Regions from separate parts of the Homo sapiens genome. Here region 2 is linked to region 1. Evidence: promoter capture Hi-C in 16 types of primary human blood cells and fetal thymus (Javierre and others, 2016). All regions are on one chromosome and are shown on one strand. The core of a region is centred on a gene start or on the middle of the fragment in contact, and the rest is flanking DNA. Distances in the headings are between cores, read along the strand shown. Region 1 holds the start of TRR-CCG1-3 (tRNA-Arg (anticodon CCG) 1-3). Region 2 holds the start of SLX4 (SLX4 structure-specific endonuclease subunit).

Region 1 (5,659 bases), core at 2,297-4,796:
TCACAGCTGTTAAGTGGCTGGGCCGAGCTTTGAACTTCCGTCTGTCATTCCTGCCCTGCACTCTTTCCACCTCCCTGGGCTGCCCTTAAGCCACAGATGGGGAGCTCCCGGGGCTGATGGAGTTCCACGATGTTGATCACTGGAATTGATTCCTCTTGCAGGCAGCTCCTGCAGGGGCACCCCTCCAGGGAGCTCTGACCAAGCAGACATCCTGACGGTCTACTCAGCCGCAGAGGGTAAGGAGATGGGTCATCGGGAGCCTGTGGTTACACAGGGCCCAGCTTCCTGGCCTAAGATCTGGAGTAGCCTTAGGGGCAGCTAGGGCTTAGGGTTGGGGCACAGAGATGCCAGCCCAGCTGTGGTCCAGCCATGTTCCCTACATGGGTTAGGATGTGTAGTAACAGCAGTGATGGTGAGTGCTGTGAGGCGCAGCTGTGCCAACCACTGTGTGTGCAGGTTTCCTCTAGGCTGTGAGTTCCACGAGGCCAGGGTAGACCTGCCTGCCCCAAGGCCCTGCTCAGTGTCTGGCACATAGTAGGTGCACAGTAAATGTTTGTTCAGTAGTGAATCTCTCCATAGGCTCACCTCTGCAAATACCTAGCAACAACTTGTTCCAGATGCAAGAAGTCCCTGCTCCCTGCCCTGTTCTCTTGCCTGATTCCTGGGTCCTGCCTCCTTGTACCCCACTTTCCACCAACAATAGGACCCCTGGGATTGGAAGGCAGAGGGTTGGGGCCTTGGTCTGATGCTCTGGCCCTGATCCCCTGACCTAGGCTATGTGGCCTATCGCGATGACAAGGGCTCAGACTTTATCCAGACACTGGTGGAGGTCCTCAGAGCCAACCCCGGGAGAGACCTTCTGGAGCTGCTGACTGAGGTGTGTTGGGGGGTTCCAGGGTGACAAGTGGCAAGGAGCTGGGTTTGCCCTTCTCCCCAGCCCTGGTATTCTGATCACCTCCTATGAACTCCATTGGCGAAGGAGGGATCCTCTGCCCTCAATACTACAAGATAACCAAACGCAGGATGGCCGACGCTGCACAGATGCCATCCACTGCAGTTCTTAGTCACACGTACTGCAGTCGGGTGGGGAGGAGGACACTGCATGTCATGCGGGGCCACCTGGGCTTGTGCTCAGAGCAGGGTGAACCTGCAGGGCCAGTGGGAAGCTGGCTTTGTAGTGACAAGAGAGTGAGATGCCCCCTGGTTCCCACGGGCAGATGTGGTTGGTTGGTTTGAATATTTCCAAGGCCTGTCAGGGGGCTGAAGTCCATTAGGGTGACGACCAGGTGGGGTGCAGCTGGTCTGCTGAGAGGGGACCTAGGGGGTGGGAGCCTGTCCTGCTGGGTGGGGACATGTCTGGCCAGAGCAGAGGAATTCACCGTTAGGCCTCTGGAGCTCTGCGAGCCTCAAAGATGTCCAGGCAGTCCTTGAAATTTTAGGCCTTGCAATGTACCAAGCCAGGGGCTCTCCCCTGGGGCAGGCTGAGCCCCGGAGGGCTGTAACCCCGGGCGCAGGCTGGGTGTGGTCCTCAGGTCAACAGGCGGGTGTGCGAGCAGGAGGTGCTGGGCCCCGACTGCGATGAACTCCGCAAGGCCTGCCTGGAGATCCGCAGCTCGCTCCGGCGCCGGCTCTGCCTCCAGGCCTGAGGGTGCGGCGGCCACGGGGGCGCTGCTGAGACGGTGGCCAGATCCCAGCGCCATTCTTGCCTCCATCCACCCCCCATCCCCCCGGTTTCCTCATCTGAGAGCGAGGCGTGGCAGCGTGGGGGTGGCCGTGCAATAAATATCTGCCGTGAACAGTGCCTGTTCTCAAGGACGTGTGAAATAAGTGAGATAATGTGTGTAAAGCGCCTGGCACTGCATATGGACGCAATAGTGTCCATGGGAACCGAGTTGGGGCCTGTGCCCAGCTTCCGGGACTTAGGAACCCAACATGGGCTGGACTGGGCTGGGCTGGGTTGGCAGTTCGGTTATGGGAGCGTCCAGGGGGAGAGGGGTCCCAGGAAGAGGACGCATATCCCTCTCCCAGACATGTCCCTGTGTATGCGCGCCCCACCTCCACCCCGCGCTGGGCCATAGAAACTCAGGAGACACGGCCTCCGCTTTCCAGGCGGCCAGAATAAAGTCTGGGGCCAAAAGCCTCTGAAACACACCTTTGCAGGTTCACCGTGATGGAGCAAGCACAGGGGCTGGGCAAGCAGCTTGCAGCCCCTGACCCAAAGCGGCGGGAGGCACATGGGGGAAAGCGCTCCCAAACGGCGTCTCGGAGGGGCCTGCTGCGGGGAGGGTGGGGTAGGGCGGGCTCGCCAGGGCTCGAACTCACAGTCCCGGGCCCGCGGCGGCGGTTTCCACCCAGCAGCCTCAGCGGCCCGGCGCGGTGGCCCAGCTCGGAGTCCCGCCCACCGGGAGCCTCGGAAGGACCGGCCTCCCCTCACTCTAAGCATGCGCGTTAAAGCGACAGCATAGGCTATAGAAAGCTTTATGAGAATAGCTGGGAGCCATACAGCCGCAGGGCCGCGTGGCCTAATGGATAAGGCGTCTGATTCCGGATCAGAAGATTGAGGGTTCGAGTCCCTTCGTGGTCGTTGCCATGTTAACGTTTTCTTCCAGCTCCACTTAAAATTTCTTCACCTGGGACTGCACCCTGGGCGACTACGACACTCGAACTGAGTGCGCCGGTCGCTCTCCCCTCACCCCCGTAGGAACACTGGGACCTCGCCCTGCGCCTCCAGTCGCGAAGCTAAGGACCCAGGGCCAGAATAGCAGCGAGGGCGACTTAGAGAACGCCGGCAGGGCCCTGGCGGACTGCGGAGCTTGAAGCCAGAGAACGCAGGTCCTGGGATCTGGTAGGGGATTGACTTCACAAATTAACGTTCAGGTGATGGAAACCGTGACAGACGCGGGGCTGGGATTGCTTGCTGTGAGGAGTTGCCCCAAGGGATCAAAGGACACCTGTAGTTTTTTGTTTTTGTTTTTGTTTTTTTTTTGAGACGGAGTTTCGCTCTTGTTGCCTAGGCTGGAGTGCAATGTCTTGATCTCCGCTCACTGCAACCTCCGCCTCCCGGGTTCAAACGATTCTCCTGCCTCAGCCTTCCGAGTAGCTGGGATTACAGGCATGCGCCACCAGGCCCGGCTAATTTTTGTATTTTTAGTAGGGTGGGGGGGTGGGCGGGGGTGGGTTCTCCATGTTGGCCAGGCTGGTCTCGAACTCCCGACCTCAGGTGATCGTCCAGCCTCGGTCTCCCAAAGTGCTGGGCTTACAGGCGTGAGCCACCGCGCCCGGCGACATGTGTAGTTTAATTGATTATTGTGATGAAAAACTTTGTATCAACTGATCATGGGGTAACAAAGTAAAAAAGAAAACGATTATAGTGGTGATGAGCCGGGCGCGGTGGCTCACGCCTCTAATCCCAGCACTTTGGGAGGTCGAGGCGGGCGAATCATGAGGTCGGGAGTTCCAGACCAGCCTGACTCACATGGTAAAACCCCGTTTCTACTAAAAATACAAAAATTAGCGGGACGTGGTGGCGCGCGCCTGTACTCCCAGCTACTCAGGAGGCTGAGGCAGGAGAATCGCTTGAACCCGGGAGGCCGGAGGCTGCAGTGAGCCAAGATCGCGCCACTGCACTCCAGCCTGGGCGACAGAGCGAGACTCCGTCTCAAAATAGAAAATAAATAAAATAAAATAAAATAAAATAAAATAAAATAAAATAAAATAAAATAAAATAAAATTCAAAGAGTATCTCCAGGATTGAGTTAATATTTCGCCGAGGGGAAAAAAAATGTCTACCAGCGGAACCCGAGTTTAGTCCGGGTGCCGAGCAGCGCCTCTTGGGGTATCCTTCCACGGGGTGGGGTATCCTTCCACGGGGTGAAGGCTGCGGAGAGTCGCAGCTGCAGGCATGGCCTCCGGTCGGCGGACGCTGGTGACCTGGCGTCGTGCAGGGTGTCACTTTCTCCTTTAATTTTTTTTGATGTTTCAGTGGTTTACGAAGGTATTTGTTTTTGGTAGAGACGGGGCGCTCACTATTTTGCCCATGATGGTCTCGAACTCCTGGACTGAAGCGTTTACTAGGTATTAAAGGAAAAGAACGTCATTAAAATACAGATTTTTTAAAAAAGGAAAATAACACACGTGTTGGGGCAGGAAAGTAAACACCCAACGTGGCGATCCTGAGATTAACACCTAGCCAGCTGGGGATGTAGAGGGCGGATTTTGGAGGGTCATTATTAAGAGGCTTCCGACCACTGGGCGGCACCCTTGGTCTAACGGACAATGCGGGGGAGGAGGACGAAGACCGACACTTCCAGAAGCGGCGGGCTCGGGATGAGGAGCCAGTTGCTGAGCTGGCATCGCGTGCCCCTTCCCATACACTCTACCCATCGCAAGTGCATCATTCGCTACTAATTACCCCTAGACTTGGGTTGTCTCCTGAGTGGAGACGACGGCTTGTGAAGGAGTTGATCCAGGCACCTCTCGCACCCTAAGCGAAGATCATACCCCTAGACCAAAGAGCGGAGCCAAAAATCTGACGTTCGGTGTCTTTCAGGTCCCTCTGCACGTGCGCCGTCTCTTTGGGGTCCCGAGGATGCTCAGGAGCGGACGAGATCTGAACCGAAGCTTGGATTGCAGTGGAGGGGCGGGAGAAAGGCCAGGGTAGGACGGGCAGGCTGTGCAGGAACCACCGCGGAGTGATGGAGAAACTGGTCTAAGACAAGCGACAGCGTTTTGTTATCCGCCCCGGTGGCCTAATGGATAAGGCATTGGCCTCCTAAGCCAGGGATTGTGGGTTCGAGTCCCACCCGGGGTAAAGAAAGGCCGAATTTTAGTGTTCCTTATCGGGCAGAAGAGTTAGAATGCGGTATACTCCAGTGGAGGTGCGGAGTTTCCGAAGGGTTACCAAAAAGGCTCTAAATCAGAAACCTCTACCTGTTTTCAAGGAAGACGAGCACAATTTCACGTTACAGAAAAAAGGAGCCGAATCTTTTACAGGATGTTAAGTACCATCCATTTAACTTGATAGAAAGGAATGATTGTTTATTTTTCCAGGTTTGTTAATTCTATTATGGTTACAAATATTTTTTAAATCCTTTTTTTTATAAACACAATTATTTACAGATTAAATTACAAGACAACTGGTTTGTTTTAAAAATCATAAAACTGAGGCCAGGTGCGCTGGCTTAAACTTGTAATCCCAGCCTGTAATCTCCGTTTCAAAAAAAAAAAAAAAGAAATCATAAGATGGATGGCGGTATAGATGAAACTACTTATCCATGAGTAGATAATGGGGGACATGAGGGGACATTGCACTATTTTCTCTCTTTTAATACATATTTGAAATAGTCCATAGTATTCTTTTTTTAAATCCATGCAATATATGATGCCATCTTCAAGGTAAAAATTTCCCGAACTACAGGACATGGTGTAAAGTAAAATCAGAAGCCGCTCTGATGGGGACCACTGCTGGAGTTTTGTCATAAATATGTATAAAAACATGGTTGGCTTTTGCCTTTAAAACCAATAATTGGCCCGGGCGCAGTGGCTCCCGCCTGTAATCCCAGCACTTTGGGAGGCCGAGGCGGGCGGATCACGATCACGCACCAGCCTGACCAACACGGTGAAACCCCGTCTCTACTAAAAATAGAAAAATTAGCCGGGC
Region 2 (5,397 bases), core at 2,700-5,199, 460 kb after region 1:
CCTGGGTGAGAGACCAAGATCCTGTCTCTAAAAACTAAGTAAGTAAATAAATCAATAACAATAACAAAGGAAAAGATTAAAAGGTCTTCAGAGAGAGAAAGAAAGAACCTGAAGATTCTCCTGGGACTTGAGCCCACACAGAGTCCTCATGCGGCCCTCTCAGCAGCCTATCCAAATTGGCTGGCCCAGTCCAACTTACCCACTTTGGAATAAATTCAAGAAAACAAGAGAAGCAGCATTATTGTGTTGTTTGTGTAACTCATGTCAATCATATAACAGAATTTCATAGGAAATTCTGAAAGAGCAGAGGACTCCAAACACAATCATGTGAAAAATTCACACGGGTTATGTTTTTCTTGACTGTTGTTTAAACCAGGAGTCAGCCGGGCGCAGTGGCTTACGCCTGTAATCCCAGCACTCTGAGAGGCTGAGGCACGAGGATTGCTTGAGTCCAGGAGTTCAAGACCAGCCTGGGCAACATAGTGAGACCTCCAGCTCTAAATTTTTTTTTAAGCTTAAAAATTAAAAAATAAAAACAAACCAAAAGTTAGCAAACTACGGTCATGTGGCTGGCTGCCTGTTTTTGTAAATAAAGTTTTACTGGCATATGGCCATGCCTGTTCATTTACATATTGTCCACGCCTGCTTTCTCACTATGACAGCAGAGTTGAGTAGTTGTGACAGAGTCTGTGTGGCCTACAAAGCCAAAATATTTACGATCTGGCCCTTTCCAGGAAGTTTTCCAGCCCCTGGTTTAAAAGAGTACAAATTACCTCTGGTTTTCTCTCTGGAAAGGTTTGGCGATGGTTCTTGCTGGTTACCCGTCTGGGTGTTTTGTGCTGTTTCCCGGAGCACAGGTGGATCTGGAGCAGAGGCAAGCACACCCCCCTCCCCATTCACAGAGTGGGCCGGTTCACTTGCTTGCCATTTGGTTACCCTTTGCTTTTTAGTCCTAGGGGCCTGGCTGCCAGACGGAGGTTTCTTCTCTGCAGGGCCTTGAAGGGTTTTGGTCTTGGTAGCAGTTTGTTTGGTCCTTTTCAATTTGCTTCTTATCTGAGTGCCGTTTGAGGCAGCCTTTTGTGTCTTCCTTTCTCCTGACACTTCCTTGATTCCATGTTTTTTCACCCTTTGGAAAAAGCTAGCGCAGAGTTCTTTAAAGTCCTCATCAGACTCATCCATCATCTGACCAGTTTTAAGGCTTTCAGGCTGGTCTTCAGAGGAGCGAGGGTCAATCCCAGGACAGGCAGACAGATGAGAAAGTGAACCCAAGTAGAAGCCTAGCTGAGCCTCATTCACACTCAGTTTCATTAGGGTTCTTCTCTACTTCTCCATTAGATACTTGGAGAGTTTGCACAATTGAACAAAAAGTACTGTTTTCCTCTCTATAATGATTGAAGTATCTTTGTTCAAATTGGGCCTGTGGTTAAACATGTTTAAAGCTTCCCTCTGTTAAAGTCCACAACTGGGCCGGGCGCGGTGGCTCACACTTGTAATCCCAGCTCTTTTGGAGGACGAGGCGGGGGGTGGATCACCTGAGGTCAGAAGTTCGAGACCAGCCTGGCCAATATGGTGAAACCTCGTTTCAACTGAAAATACAAAAAATTGGCCAGGCGTGGTAGCAGATGCCTGTAATCCCAGCTACTCGGGAGGCAGAGGCAAGAGAATCGCTTGAACCTGGGAGGCGGAGATTGCAGTGAGCCGAGATCGTGCCACTGCACTCTAACCTGGGCAACAAGAGCAAAACTCTGTCTCAAAAAATAATAATAATAAATAAATAAAGTTCACAACTGAAAGAGTGTTTTGTTGTCCAATAGATGCCTCTGAGATCGAATACATATGAACCTGGTGCTCAGATAATTCTCCAAGATCTCCATGATGATGAAACATATATGGTTCACTTAATTACACATCTGTGGAAAACCAAAAGCATGTAAGTGTAATCAGACATTGTCATTTTATGCCAGTTCTTCCAGGGAGGGACAAGGGCATGTGGGGTGAGGGAAAAGTCTTCGGAGTAACAATACTGTCAAATACTCAGTCCAGCCTGGTTAACATGGTCTAACCGTCCTATCAGACATCACAACAAAAGGACCTAGAAACCTGTCAAAGCATGTTGTTCTTCCACAGGTATTAAAATATGTGCATCTTGGGAGAGTGTTTTCTTAACTGAAATTTAGGGAGCAAACCCCATAAAAGGCAGTCACCACAGAAACAGGATGATCCCCAAATCTAGGAAAACTATCTCCTACACTGATCTAAGACCCCTGGCTGTTAAAGAGGCTCTTTCTGTAAATACTGCAACATAAGAGACAGAAAGAGACATTATATTCTCATGAACACTCAGGAGAGAAAAGGTCACTTTTACTTATCTTCTCAACCCAGCAAGGCTCTCCAAACCTGGATGACTGGAATGTCGCCTGTGTGCAAAGGCTGGGCCTCGTGAGCATGGTTGTTTACTTTGGCACACAGCTAAGTGGGGTTCAAAAATCAAAACTGAATGACCCAATGGCAGAAAGTTATTCCTTTCAAATACAATAATGCAATCTCCACTGTCCAAGGAATCTAATTAATCATTTTGTTTTCCAGAGCTGAAAATACTCCTACCTAGAATCTACTTTGTATGGCTGGCGCATTCTCTTCTGTGTCTTCCCCTTAGAGAAGTGTCCTCTAATCCTTTATGGACCGTCTCCATCCCCGTTAATCCCTATCATCGCCCACTGTTTTCACAATGGCATCTGTCATAGGTTATCATCATATGAAACAGGTAATATCTATCGAATGCTTACTGTGTGCCAAGCACTGTTCCAATTGCTTTCCAAGTCAAACTCGTTTAATCCTTACAAGAAGCCTATATGGTGGAATCTCTTGTCATCCTGTCTTTACGGCAAGGAAACACGCGCAAGCAGAATGAGGAACTGGCCTAAAGCCAGTTCAGGAACAGCTTTCACAGTGGCAGGGCTGGGATCAAACCCAGGAAGTGTGGTTCGAAACTATCCGCTCTTGTGTTTTTATTCATCGGCTTATTATCTGTCCCCCATTAAGCTCAACACTTCAGGAGGGTAGAGATCCATCTATTACTTTGCAACCTCTTTGGCTGATCTGGTGCCTGACTTGAAATAAGTGCTCCACAACTACTTGTTGAATTCATGAATTGCAAAGAGTTCGGTATAATGGGAGTAGAGAGAAAGGTGTAGGAGAAAACGCTGCGGGGAGAGGAAAGGATTGGCTCACAAGGGCCTGGAAGGTCAGGCTAGGCAAAGTGAATTTTATCCTGTTGGATGCGGGGAGCGGCTGGAACAAATTCCACCTCCACAACTGTGTTGATCTCCGCATCTCTGTTGATATGAACCTCACAACAGTCTATCTCCTCCTATAGGTGCCCAGTCAAGATTTACTGAATGACATAACGGATCCTGCAAGCCTGCAGGTTTCCAGAGGGAAGGGGACTTGTGCCTCCTTGCTTCGTACCTACCGCAGCCCACGGCTCACAGCAGGCGAGGGATGAATGAATGGATCGGTAAGGGGCGGACCCTCCCGCTTCCCCCAACCCGGCGACCTACGGAAAGGGGCTGAGGGGTTCCCCGTCTGGGAAAAGGGCTGCCAAAGACTCTAACGGCTCTAAAGTCAGACGGAGAACCCCGATCCCCGGACTGGCCCGGACGGAGACCACCGTGGGGATCCGGATCCGCCACCCTCCTCCCTCCAGGCGGGCCCCGGCCCCTCTCCACCCGAGTGCGGCTCCTGCCTCTCCGTCGGGGCTGCGGGCCTGCCGAGGCCACGGAGCCAGCGAGGGAGACGGGCGAGAAAGGCTCTTCTCCCTTAGGAAAGAGAGAACGGCCCGAAATGACAGGACCTCCGCCTCCCGGGTGCCGACTCCCAGCCCCACAGCCCGGCTCCTCCTACCTCCGGCGCCGCCGCGGCACCTTCTTAACGGAGACTCGCGCGCCTGCGCATGCGCCGCCCGCGCCCCCGCGGAGCATTGCCTGCGCGCAGGCGCAGAGCGGGCGCGCGCGGTGGTGCGGCAGCCTCGCTTCCGGTCTTCCTCTGCGGCGCCGGGCGCGGGCCCGCGGCGGCCAGCGCTTCCGGTCGGCAGGAGGCGGGGCGAGGCGGAAGCGGCGCTTGCTTCAGGTGGAGTCTGTTAGTTTTTGAGAAAGAGTTAGGGCGAGTTTAAGGCACTGTGGCAGCTGTGAGATAAAGTCTGGTTCCTCCCCAGCTGGCTCAGGAAATGTTCGCGGATACAACGGCGGCCCCCTCTGGGCATACCTGCCTGTGGAGCGGAGAGTGGACGGTGTGAGGGGGACCGGGAGAGGCACCAAATCTGGCCTGGGGGCCCGAGAAGCTTCCTCTCAGGTGGGGTGGCGTGAGAGTCGAGGCCTGGAGGTCGGGGAGGGTTAGCTACGTGAAGAGGGGATTCTGCCGCGCTTCAGGTGCCTGGAGGGGATGCCCGAGCTCTTCCGCAGGGCTAGGGTGAAGCCAGCCAGGGCCTGGGGGAAAGGTAGCAGAGGTTTGCCATGGCTTGGTATTTGAGGGACTTTACACATCGTATTAAGGGTTTGAGCTTCAACTTGGGGTCGTCGGGAGCCATTGAAGGTTTTTTGTTGTTTGTTTTTTGAGACGGGGTTTTGCTCTTGTTGCCCAGGCTGGGGTGCAGTGGCGCGATCTCGGCTCACTGCAACCTCTGTCTCCCGGGTTCGAGCGGTTCTTGTGCCTCACCTTCCCAAGTAGCTGGGATTACAGGCGCCAGTCACCACGCCCAGCTAATTTTTGTGTTTTTAGTAGAGACTAGGTTTCACTCTGTTGCCCAGGCTGGTCTCCAACTCCTGACCTCAGGTGATCCGCCCGCCTCGGCCTCCCAAAGTGGTGGGATTACAGGCGTGAGCCACCGCTCACGGCTTTTTTTTTTTTTTTTTTTAAGTAGAGACGGGCGGTGGGGGCGGGGGGGGGAGTCTCACTATGTTGCCCAGGCTGGTCTCGAGCCCTGGCCGCAAGAGATCCTCCCGCCTCGGCCTCCCAAAGCGCTGAGATTACAGGCGTGAGCCACCACGCCCGGCGTAAGATTTTGTTTTTAAAGGCCTAATTACAGTGAGAACAGATGAGGCAAGGACACCCATTAGGAGGCTATTACATAATCTAGATGAAAAGTGAGAGCGGCCCGAATTAGGAGGTGGAGCGAAAAGAATGGAGAAATATGGAGCATAGTCAAGACGCAGTTGTTAACGATTTGCCGGTTTCTGGCCTTAACATCTGAGAGTAGTGTGCCTCCAGTCACTGAAATAATGAACACAGGAGAGGTGTAAAGGAATCAGTTTGCAGGGCAGACAATATGTTTTTTAAAAGATACAGTATCATAAAATGCACACTAGAAGTGTACATTCAGTGGTTTCCAGTACGTTCACA

What was found. The method cuts DNA at HindIII sites, captures the fragments that hold promoters and counts their contacts. A CHiCAGO score of 5 or more calls a contact.
Region 2: a contact is called between the fragment with the promoter of SLX4 here and a fragment that was not itself captured in region 1, in 1 of 17 cell types (megakaryocytes). The highest score is 5.9, in megakaryocytes.

The regions. Positions count from the first base shown.
Region 1 is chr16:3,148,163-3,153,821 of GRCh38, forward strand. TRR-CCG1-3 (tRNA-Arg (anticodon CCG) 1-3) reads left to right here and starts at 2,512; the gene lies at 2,512-2,584. TRR-CCT3-1 (tRNA-Arg (anticodon CCT) 3-1) reads left to right here and starts at 4,738; the gene lies at 4,738-4,810. It also overlaps the pseudogene CASP16P and the pseudogene TRP-AGG6-1. RefSeq lists an enhancer at 1,585-1,634 and silencers at 2,235-2,584, 4,766-4,905. The HindIII fragment of the contact is 2,144 bases long and covers 2,475-4,618 here.
Region 2 is chr16:3,607,657-3,613,053 of GRCh38, forward strand. SLX4 (SLX4 structure-specific endonuclease subunit) reads right to left here and starts at 3,950. Exons shown (of 15, transcript NM_032444.4): 1 at 3,904-3,950; 2 at 774-1,910. The coding sequence starts at 1,308. It also overlaps a transcript of DNASE1 not described here. RefSeq lists a silencer at 3,808-4,157 and an enhancer at 4,198-4,267. The HindIII fragment of the contact is 2,900 bases long and covers 1,438-4,337 here.